Regions from separate parts of the Homo sapiens genome. Here region 2 is linked to region 1. The links are contacts of gene promoters, found by promoter capture Hi-C in blood cells and fetal thymus (Javierre and others, 2016). All regions are on one chromosome and are shown on one strand. The core of a region is centred on a gene start or on the middle of the fragment in contact, and the rest is flanking DNA. Distances in the headings are between cores, read along the strand shown.

Evidence for each region. Contacts are between HindIII fragments. The CHiCAGO score rates a contact against its expected background, and 5 or more counts as called.
Region 2: a contact is called between a fragment that was not itself captured here and the fragment with the promoter of LINC03010 in region 1, in 1 of 17 cell types (naive B cells). The highest score is 5.7, in naive B cells.

What each region holds. Positions count from the first base shown.
Region 1 is chr7:155,378,940-155,384,026 of GRCh38, forward strand. LINC03010 (long intergenic non-protein coding RNA 3010) reads left to right here and starts at 3,137. Exons shown (of 3, transcript NR_147174.1): 1 at 3,137-3,376. RefSeq lists enhancers at 2,383-3,194, 3,195-4,006. The HindIII fragment of the contact is 8,785 bases long and covers 2,201-5,087 here.
Region 2 is chr7:157,025,250-157,030,336 of GRCh38, forward strand. No RefSeq gene overlaps it. Among named protein-coding and RNA genes, the nearest start is that of MNX1-AS1, 17 kb to the left of the region's middle. The HindIII fragment of the contact is 1,064 bases long and covers 1,551-2,614 here.

The DNA of each region.
Region 1 (5,087 bases), core at 1,887-4,386:
GAGGAGGAGGCAGGAAGGGTTGGGCTCTGCAGGCCTTTAGAACGATCGGAGGTCTAATGAAAATAAATACCTTGTAAACATGTGGGTACCAAGTAACCAGAAGAGAGCTTAGACCAAGAAGGTCGGGGGGTCTTTTCCCACCTGTGAGAAAATAAGAGATCCTGGAGCTCTGCAGCCTTAGCAATGAACTGGATTACTGATTAGTGTTTAGAGGCACCCATGCATGAGTTGGCAAACCAAGCCATTGAAATGTGGAATCAGCAGGATCTGGCTTTTTGAATGTCCATTACTTCTCATGTACATGCATATCTATGTTAAATATGGAAAAGAAGAAAAAATTTAAAAGAGAAACAGAACCCTGCTTTACCAGATTAATCAAAATGGAATGATAGATTCTTGAGTTTGAAATAACCCCCGCCCCAGGAATTCTCCAGCGTCTCTGCAAGAAGCTCTCAGACAGACAGCAGTTAAACAAGGTCGGCAAAACCGACTCTCAGATTCAACAAACTGCTCTTTCTGTTTCTGCAACAGGAAGAAAACATTCCACGAGCTGATGGAAGCCCTCACAGACATACATCTGTTATGGCTTTCCCAGAATCCTGACCCCTGGACAATTCTTTTGGGAACACCCTTCTCTATCTAAGGAAAATGACATTCCTAAACCCTGCCCTGCCACCTCACATATGCAGAGTCTGAAAGGGAAGCCAAAACCCCTTGGTCATCCTCACTCTCAGCCCTCTGCCCAAAAGGGGGAACTTTGATCAAATGCAACTTTCTTCTCCTTTGGCCCCAAGCTTCTGTGCCCTCAGTTCACACTCACCCAGAATGCAAAAGCATTTGGATTCAGTGCTGTCCCCTCTGGCTTTCTGTCTGTCATTTGGCCTGGAAAGGACGGTCAGAAATGCCATGGACAGTTACAATTCGACTCAGTAACTTCCACATGGCTCATGAATGTCCTTGGCCACCCGGGAACTGCAGCCCTCTGCCCCCCAAGTTAATTGCTAAATGATTTGCAAACTTAAACAATTATACATTCTCTCTTGACTTGCCCCGAAGAAATCATGTTAATTTATGACACACTCACATGATCCTGATTAACAAACCTAGACTAAATTTGCATGTGGCAAAATGCAATACAGATATATATTTTAAAAAATAATATAAGCAGGTTTTTGCCAACTCTTTTCTCCCACGGTTTAATGACCTACCATCCTGGTTCATACGTTTTTTAACACCTGACTTTGGATATTTTTTTAAAATGAATCGATTTGTAGTCATTGCCTGGCTGCCTGTGGGGAAGGAGCTCCTGCCGTTGGCAGACACCTCTGCAGCCAGGCGTGGGGTGTCCTTCCATCAAAGCAACGCCAGGGGGCAAGAAGCGTTAACAAAGCCCGGGACGCTCCGCACTCTCCCTTTATCTACCCGTGTGTGCGTGTCACACTTTCCAGGGCGAAATGTCATTTTGCAAGGTTATACATTTCCAATTCCTCATAGAGCCTTATCGCTCATCATTTACCTCTTGGGCACAAACAAACAGCCTCTTTAAATAAAGCCAGGGAAGGGAAGCATATACCTTTGTACAATTAAAAATAGCACAAGAATGCCAAAATGTATTGGACCTTGCTGTTAATCCGACTTACCTGGCTGACACTCTGGCCTAATCCTATTTTCTCCTCGCATTAGAATGACTCTACAAGGCTACGTTTTGTTCTTCGGGAGCACAGTTTACCTGGCCAGTGGGCTGAGGATCAGAGAAGCCTCACCACCTAAGGTGGGGAGAGGGGCTGCAGACTGCCCAGCCTGGCCCCAGCCTGCTGGAGGTCCCAGTGCAGAGCCTGCTTGGCGAGACAGAAAGCAAACGAAATCACTCAAGGGAAACTTCGCTGGAGACAAAACACATTCAATTTCCTGAGGATTCTGCTTTCTCTCAGGAATTATTTGCTTTTGCCGAGGCACATTAAACAAATTAAACACTAAAAATGGAAGCTCCTTTGCTTCCTGGCTCAGAAAATAGTTTTTTTTTTAAAGGATATAGTACGAACAGTAATACAAATGAAAGAAAACAGTAACACTCTAGCTCTTTAAAATAAACTCATGTGGGCACCTAAAGTCCTTTTTGGCAAATTCTTATCTTGTGGGGCAGTGCAGACAATGGGAGCTTGTGCTAAACGGCTGCTGTCACTCTGCTGACATTCCAGGAAGCTTCCACGCAGCTACTTGGGCATCTTTTCACACCTTCACCTTCCAAACCGCAGTCCCTGGTGATCCTGACTTTTGCAGCCTGGCTCTGGGTCCACACGGGGCTGGAGAAGGGGATTCGGTCTGAATGGGTTCGTGGAGGGTGGGGCAGGGGGCTGAGCTGAGGAACGCGCTGGCGAGGGAGTCAGATACTGTTACTTCGTATTTTAGGAATGTATTTCTCCTGCACACCCCTCCCTCCCCTGCCCACCCCCCTCTCCCAGTATCATTGCTCTTTGAAATGTCATGAACTTGGCGCTTTCAGACCAAACCGCCGGGCTCAGGCCCGAGACAATGGGATTGTCAGAGGGCCAGCGCGGAGCTTTTTCTGCGTGTTCACGGAGCGTTAAGCCTTTATCCCACAGAACGGCTCTGTCTGACCGGGTCAGACAAAAGCCAACTTGCATCTTCCGCTCCGAGGGGATCTGGGCAGAGCCCGGGTACAGCCCTGCGCGGCCCCAGGGAGAGGGGGGAGAGGGCGCGTGTCCCCAGCCCTGCCAAGTGGCGTGGGGAGCGCGAGGCCCTCCTCGGTCAGAGCCACCAACTCTGGTCTCCGTGGACATCCCCCTTCCCCCGCCCGCTCCCGAGGCTCTAGGGCGGCCTCCTGGCCGCTGCCTTCTCGCACCCAGGGTCTTCGGCCTGGGCTCCACACCTCAGGCCCCTCAAGTAATCGGCCTCTTGGTGGCCGGGCACTGCCTTTCCGGCTGCTCTCTGCACCCGTCTGCCCCTCCGGCCTCCCCTGGCGGCTACAGGCGTCCGGGGCCCTCGCTCCCCAGCTCCAGGCGTCCCGGGAGCCAGGCGCGCAGCGGGGCGAGTTCTCGTGTCCGTGTGAGCGCGGGCGTGTGTATGCGTGCGCGTGCACGAGCGTGAGTGTGCGTGAGCGTGAGTTTGAGTGTGCATGCGGGTGTGAATGTGTACATGTACACGAATGTGAGTGTGAGTGTGCATGAGCGTGAGCGTGCGTGTGCGTGCGAGTGTGCACGAGCGTGACTGTGAGTGTGCGTGCGTGGAAGCGCGGCGGGGAGCCTGGCTGAAGGCCTGCTGCCTGCATGGCTGTCAGAGAAAAACAGAAGTGGGAGCCTGCTGCGGGCTCCGAGAGGACTTGATGGGAGCCCTGGCGCGCGCTGGGCACCGCGCGGTGAGTGTCGGGGGTGGGGGCCGCGGGTCTCCAGCAGCCCCTGCCCTGTGCGGACCGCCGCCCCGAGGGTCCCTGCTTGCGGGTCCGGGGCTGGGCGTGCCTGGCTCCCCCTTGCCCCCTGCTCCACCGGCAGGATTCAAGGGACGAGAGCTCTGGGCTGCGGAGAGTTGCCCTGGCTGGCCCCGTCCTGCAGCAAAGGGCGGGCGGCGCGAGTGGAGTGTGCGGGGCAGGCTGGGCGGCAGAGGGAGCCCAGGGGAGCCCATGGCATGGCACCGCCAGTGTGGGCTTATGAGGAGGTGCAGGCCGGGACCTCAGGCTGTGGGCAGGACCGCAGGCAGCGGCTGGCAGGCTCCAGGCAGGCTCTGGAGGACCCGGGATTTAGGTATTTATGCAGTGAGAAGGCAGGGGTTTGGGTGTTCTTTCTCCCCTCTTCCTCCTTGGAATTCAATTTCTTCGAAGGGCAGGGGGCAGGCCGGGAGGGAGGGACAGAGAAAGAGGCCGCGAGCCACAAATGCCGCCCCCCATCTGTTCAGTAGGGCTCACTTCCTGAGGCAGGGGTCCCTAGCACAGGGTCTGGGGAAGGCAAGGTGGGGGGTATAGGCTACCCAGATAAGGAGGGACTTGCTAGGTAGTGGCCCTGGGTCTTGAGGGGCTGGTTCCATCCCGATTGGTCCCCTGGTGCCTGGAGGGCTGTGGAGGGTCCCAGGCCTAGAGTTGGGGGCTGAGTGGGAGGACGGGCCTCACAACCTGGGATTTCTTTCCAGCTTCTGGGTCTGGATCTGGGCCTCCAGTCCCCAGCTGTGAAGCAGGAAGGGAGGGAGGGAGCCTTTCTGAGACCCTCCAGCCTCTACCCTGCAGGAAGAGGTGGATGTAACCTTGAGCATAACCTTGAGCAAGTCTTCCCAGCTTTTTAGGCCTCCACTTCCTCACCTGTAAAAGGAGCTGATGGGGGTAGACCATGTCGAATGTTACTTCTGGCTGAAACATTTTTTGTTGTGTTTTGTTTTAATTTGTGCAGAGTTGGACCTACTCTCTCATGGTGCAAATTTATTTCATTTCAGTTTCCGAGGCCAGGCATAGAATCCCTGTATATTCCCAGGGACAGTGACGCCTTATGCAGAGGATGGGCAACATAGAAAATAACCCTACCTGGGGGCACAGACAACTTATTCTTTAAAATGACCAAATGAAGCTAAATTGAAACAAAATTTTTTTTAAGTGAAATGAAACCAGTGATGCTGAGACTGAGTTGGCAGGCTGGGGAGGAAGACCTGGAAGCGTGTGTGGGCTCTCTGGGGAGTGCTCCTGGCTGGGTGCGGTCTCGGGTGGCCAGGCTGGGCAGAGGCGTTTCAGGATTTGATGGGAATCTTTGGCCTTGAGCTGTCTCCCCTACCTGCAAAGGCCAAGGCCTTCCCTCCACTGGCTGAAGTTGGTTGGGCTCTGCCCATCCATCCGAGCCTGCAAATTACTCACGGGGGGCTGCTAGTGCTGCCTGTGCAGGCTGGGGCCAGATGGGAACACTTTGTGGGGGCTGGCCAGCCTGGGACAGCAAGCAGCTGCTAGATTATTCCAACCCCTTTCTGTGTTCTTCACACCAGCAGGGGCTGGGGAGGCCGAGAGCCACAGCACAGCTTCAGAGAGGCCCCTTGGAGGTGTTCACAAACCCCCTGCTTCCCAGGAGGGGCACCCAGGTGTAGTTCCAGCCTAGCCT
Region 2 (5,087 bases), core at 833-3,332, 1.6 Mb after region 1:
GCTAACAGGTGTAAAGTGCTGCTTGTGATTTTGATGTGCATTTCTCTGATGGTTAGTGGCATTGAGCACCTTTTTGTGTACATGTTGGTCATTTGTATGTCTCCTTTGGAAAAATATGTATTCAGGCCCTTTATCCGTGTTAACGTCAGATTATTACTTTTTTTTTCCTATTGAGATGTATGAGCTACTGATATATTTTGGATATCAACCTTTTATCAGATATGTGGTTTGCAAATGCTTCCTCCCATTCCATAGGTTGTCTTTCCATTTTGTTGACTGCTTTCTTTGCTGTGCAAAAGCTTTCTGATGTGATGAAATTGCCCTACTTCATTTTTGCTTTTGTTTCCTGTGCTTTTGGTGTCAAATCCAAAAATCATTGCCAAGATCAATATCAATGAGATTTCTCCCGTGTTTTCTTCTAGGAGTTTTGCCATTTCAGGTCTTACATTTAAGCCTTTGATCCATTTCGAGTTAATGTTTGTGAGTGGTGTAAGATAAGGGTCAAGGTTTATTCTTATGCTTGTGTGTATCTATTCTCCAACACCGTTTATTGAAGAGATAATACTTTCCCCATTGTCTATTCTTGGCATCCTTGTCAAATATTAGTTAACCTGAGCCAGGCATGGTGTTACGTGCTGTAATCCCAGCTACTTGGTGGACTGAGATGGGAGGATCACTTGAGCCTAGGGGTTCAAGATCAGACTAGGCGCTTTAGTGAGACCCCATCTCTATAGGAAATAAAGTAGAAAAAATATCAGTTAACCGTATATGTGTGGGTTTACTTCTAGGCCCTAGATTTTGTTCCATTGGTCTATGTGTCTGTTTTTATGCCAGAACCATGCTCATTTTTATCACATAGGTTTACAATGGAGTTTGAAATCAGGAAATGGAATGCCTCCTGCTCTGTTCTTCTTTCTCAAGACTGTTTTGGCTATTTGGGGTCTTTTGTGGTTCCATATGAATTTTGGGATTGTTTTTTCTACTTATACAAAAAATGTCATTGGGATTTTGACAGGGATTGCATCGAATTTGTAGATTGCTTTGGGTAGTACCGACATTTTAACAATATTAAGTCTTCTGATTCACGAACAGGGGATGCCTTTCCACTTATTTGTAGCCTTCTTTGATTTCTTTCTTCAGTGTCTTATAGGTTTTATTACACAGATCTTTCGCCTCCTTGGTTAAATTTACATGGAAGTATTTTATTCTTTTTGATGCTATTGTAAATGGGATCATTTTCTTAATTTCCTTTTCAGACAGTTCGTAGTGTATAGAAAGGCTACTGATTTATGTTTGTTGATTTTGTATCCGTCAACTTTACTGAATTTGTTGATCAGTTCTAACAGTTTTTTGTGGAGTCTTCAGGGTTTTCTGTGCATAAGATCATGTCATCTGCAAACAGAGACAATTTTACTGCCTCCTTTCCTATTTGATGCTCTTTATTTCTTTCTTTTGCCTAATTGCCCTGGCTAGGCTAGGACTTCCAGGACAATGTTGAATAGAAGCAGTGACAGTGGGTATCCTTGTCTTGTTCCTGATCTTAGAGGAAAAGCTTTCAGCTTTTCACCATTGAGTATGATGCTAGCGGTGAGCTTTTCATATATGGTCCTTACTATATTGAGGCACGCACGTTCCTTCTACCTTATACATAATTTGTTGAATTTTTTTTTATCATGAGAGGATGTTGAGTTTTGTTAAACACTTTTTATTCATCGAATGAGATGATCATATGGTTTTTGTCCTTCATTCTGTTAATGTGGTATATTGTACTTATTGATTTGTAATATTGAACCATCGTTGCATCCAGAGATAAATCCCACTTGATCACAGGGAATGATCCTTTTAAAGTGCTGTTGAATTCAGTTTGCTGGTGTTTTGTTGCGGATTTTTCCATCCATGTTTATCAGGGATATTGGTCTGTCATTTTCTCTTCTGGCTGTGTCGTTATCTGGCTTTGATGTCAGCAAAATAGTAGACTTGTAAAATGAGTTGGGAAGTGGTCCCTAAAAGGGAGGTTTTTTTTTTTTTTTTTTTTTTTGAGATGGAGTCTCACTCTGTCACCCCCAGGCTAGAGTACAATGGCGTGGTCTTGGCTCACTGCAACCTCCGCCTCCCGGGTTCAAGTGATTCTCTCGCCTCAGCCTCCCAAGTAGCTGGGACTATAGGCACGTGCCACTACACCTGACTAATTTTTGTATTTTTGGTAGAGACAGGCTTTCACTATGTTGGCCAGGCTGGTCTCGAACTCCTGACCTCGTGATCTGGCCTCCCAAAGTGCTGGGATTACAGGCGGGGCTACCGCGCCTGGCCAATAGAGAAGTTTTTAAAATCTTTGAAATTGCCTTCTCTGGCTGCCTTTCATGATGGATCCCAGGAAGGGACAGAGGGGAAGTGACACAGCCTTCACACTCCCCAGTCAGAACGTCCGACCTGGGTGTGTGCAAGGGACACAGGCCTCAACAAGCTGTGAGGGAGCAGACACCAGGAACTGACTTAGACCAGAGGCAGCAACATCTGAGATATGGGAGGATGGGGATCTAGTGGTGGGGAAAGAAAAAAGGGGGCGGAATTCAGGCCAAGGGAATTGTGGAATACTGCCAAATGTGTGATGAGAAGCTTTAGTATTTGCCTGCTGGGCATTAAAATACCATGAATCATTGACAAGAAACCAAACAATGCTGGATCTATATAACAATTTGAACCTATATTGCTCCAAGTAAAATCAAATTAGAAGCCTTTCCCCAATTAGGTTATGCAAACGCTGACACAGAATAGAGTTGTGTTTGCTGTACACATGACGCAACATCCACCTTACACCTCGCACAGCGCAGATACTCTCAAGCACACCCATCTCGACACCGGGGTTGTGTCAACATTCTACCCCTAGATAATAAATACGAGACACAGCACACACTGCTTTTAATTGCATCGATAAACTGGGATTAACCCCCCAAGTCAGGTTTCACTATTGCAATTAAATGTCCTCAAATAAATTGTTTCCTCAATAAACAAATGGAAGGGGCTGTGTTTGCCCTGAATAATAACAGGTGTAATATTTTACTCGCTAAAGTTAAGTATTAAGTGGAATCACTTGCTAGTCCTGATTTATTCCCTGAGATCGGAAAGTCATTTTTCATACGTCATGTGCTGCTTCAGTACTGTATAAACAGCTAATAATGCACTAAATCAACCTGGCACGACCTTGCATTTCACCTAAAGCCACCAAGCTTCAAAATCCTACAGTTGGGTGTTCTCACGAGAGCCAAAGAAAACAGATGTCCTGCAAAAATCGCTGGCTGACTGCTTTTTGGGTTTTTGTCTTTAGCTTCTAAAATTCAAAATGTAAGCATTCCATAAAAACCTCGTGAGTCGTTGAACAAGCCAGTAGCTCTTTATGGACCGTGTTCTCACTGGTCTTCTGGTTGCTGCAGACGAGGCCGGCAGGCTCAGCCTACGGGAAGGCCACAGTGGGAGGACTTCCCCTGCGCCTGGGCTGAGTCCCCACCTTCCACGACCCTGTCCCCTTCATCGGTGAAACAGCACAAGACATTCCTAGAGTGACATTTCTCCCTTAATCACAGAAATGCTTGCCTCATTTTTGATGTGTTTGTGGACGTTGCATGGTTTTCAGGGCTTTTGATGTACATAGGTAAAGTCAGTATATCAATGCTGCCCTTTATTTTTAAGAGGACAGGGAAGGGAAAAGACAGTGAAGTGTCCTTGGAGGTTGGGGGTGAACATTATATTGGTTCTCAAATAACTAGGACCTATTCTTTTTCAATAGCATAGAATAACATTCTTGTTCTAGAATAGTCTACAGGGTGTAGGCCAGCGTTTTCTAAATGGTGAGTGGTGATTTGCTAAGCTATTAATATTTAATATAAACTATTAAAATTAACTCATTACTAGTTCATTTTATTTGGTCTTTTCAAATTCGTGGGTTTTTTCCCCTCTGGTTTCTTAGCCAGATACTTAGTAATGAGAATTTGTAACCTATGTGTTTTGATGTTCATTATAAATCGTTTTTTTTTTAAATAGAGATGAGATCTTGCTATGTTGTCCAGGCTTGTCTCAAACTCCTGAGCTCAAATGATCCTCTCGCCTCTACCTCCTAAAGTGCTGGGATTACAGGCATGAACCACCACACCTGGCCATAATTGTTTCTTAATTTGTCTGTATATGATCTTTCTAGAATTCATTTGGTTGCTGCTTAAACTTTGCACCATGAAAGACCCCCTTTTTTTCCCCTAATAACCTTATACTTGCATACCAAGCTGTATTTAAAATAATGCATTGCTTTAAAACAATTAATTAAATCTATATTGAGCATCTTGTCCACATGAGAGGGAGAACACACATCCTGCACTGAGGCAAGCTAACTCCATTTCCAACCAGAGATTCCGAAGACTAGCTAAGGCCACCTCTTGAAGAGAGAGCGCAGGATTTCAATTAAGCTTTTATAAATAACATATGGGAATTACCTGGAAGACACTGCCCTCCCCTTCCCCATGGCTACCTTCCTAGGTGCCTAGAGACCTGGACACCCTAGGTTGGGATTTATTGATTTAGTTAAGGAGCAATTTAGGAAACCTTTTATTAACATACTCTCGTCATCAGCATCACTGTCACCTTTCCATCATTCTGAGTGATCACCACTCTACACTTATTGTTTGTTAGTGAATCTTTCATACTTAGATCACCTAAGGGGAAATGCTTGCTGGGCTCCTCCACAGACAGAAAATATGCAGAGGAATCATGGCACAACTTACATACATCAAAACAGCGCTCCTTTTAATTGATGGCCTATAGCTTAAGAGAGAGAGTTGGCTGGGCACGGTGGCTCACACCTGTAATCCCAGCACTTTGGGAGGCCGAGGCAGGCGGATCACAAGGTCAGGAGATCGAGACCATCCTGGCTAACATGGTGAAACCCCGTCTCTACTAAAAATACAAAAAATTAGCCGGGCGTGGTGGCGGGCGCCTGTAGTCCCAGCTACTCAGGAGGCTGAGGCAGGAGAATGGCGTGAACCCGGGAGGCGGTGCTTGCAGTGAGCCGAGATTGCGCCACTGCACTCCAGCCTGGGCGA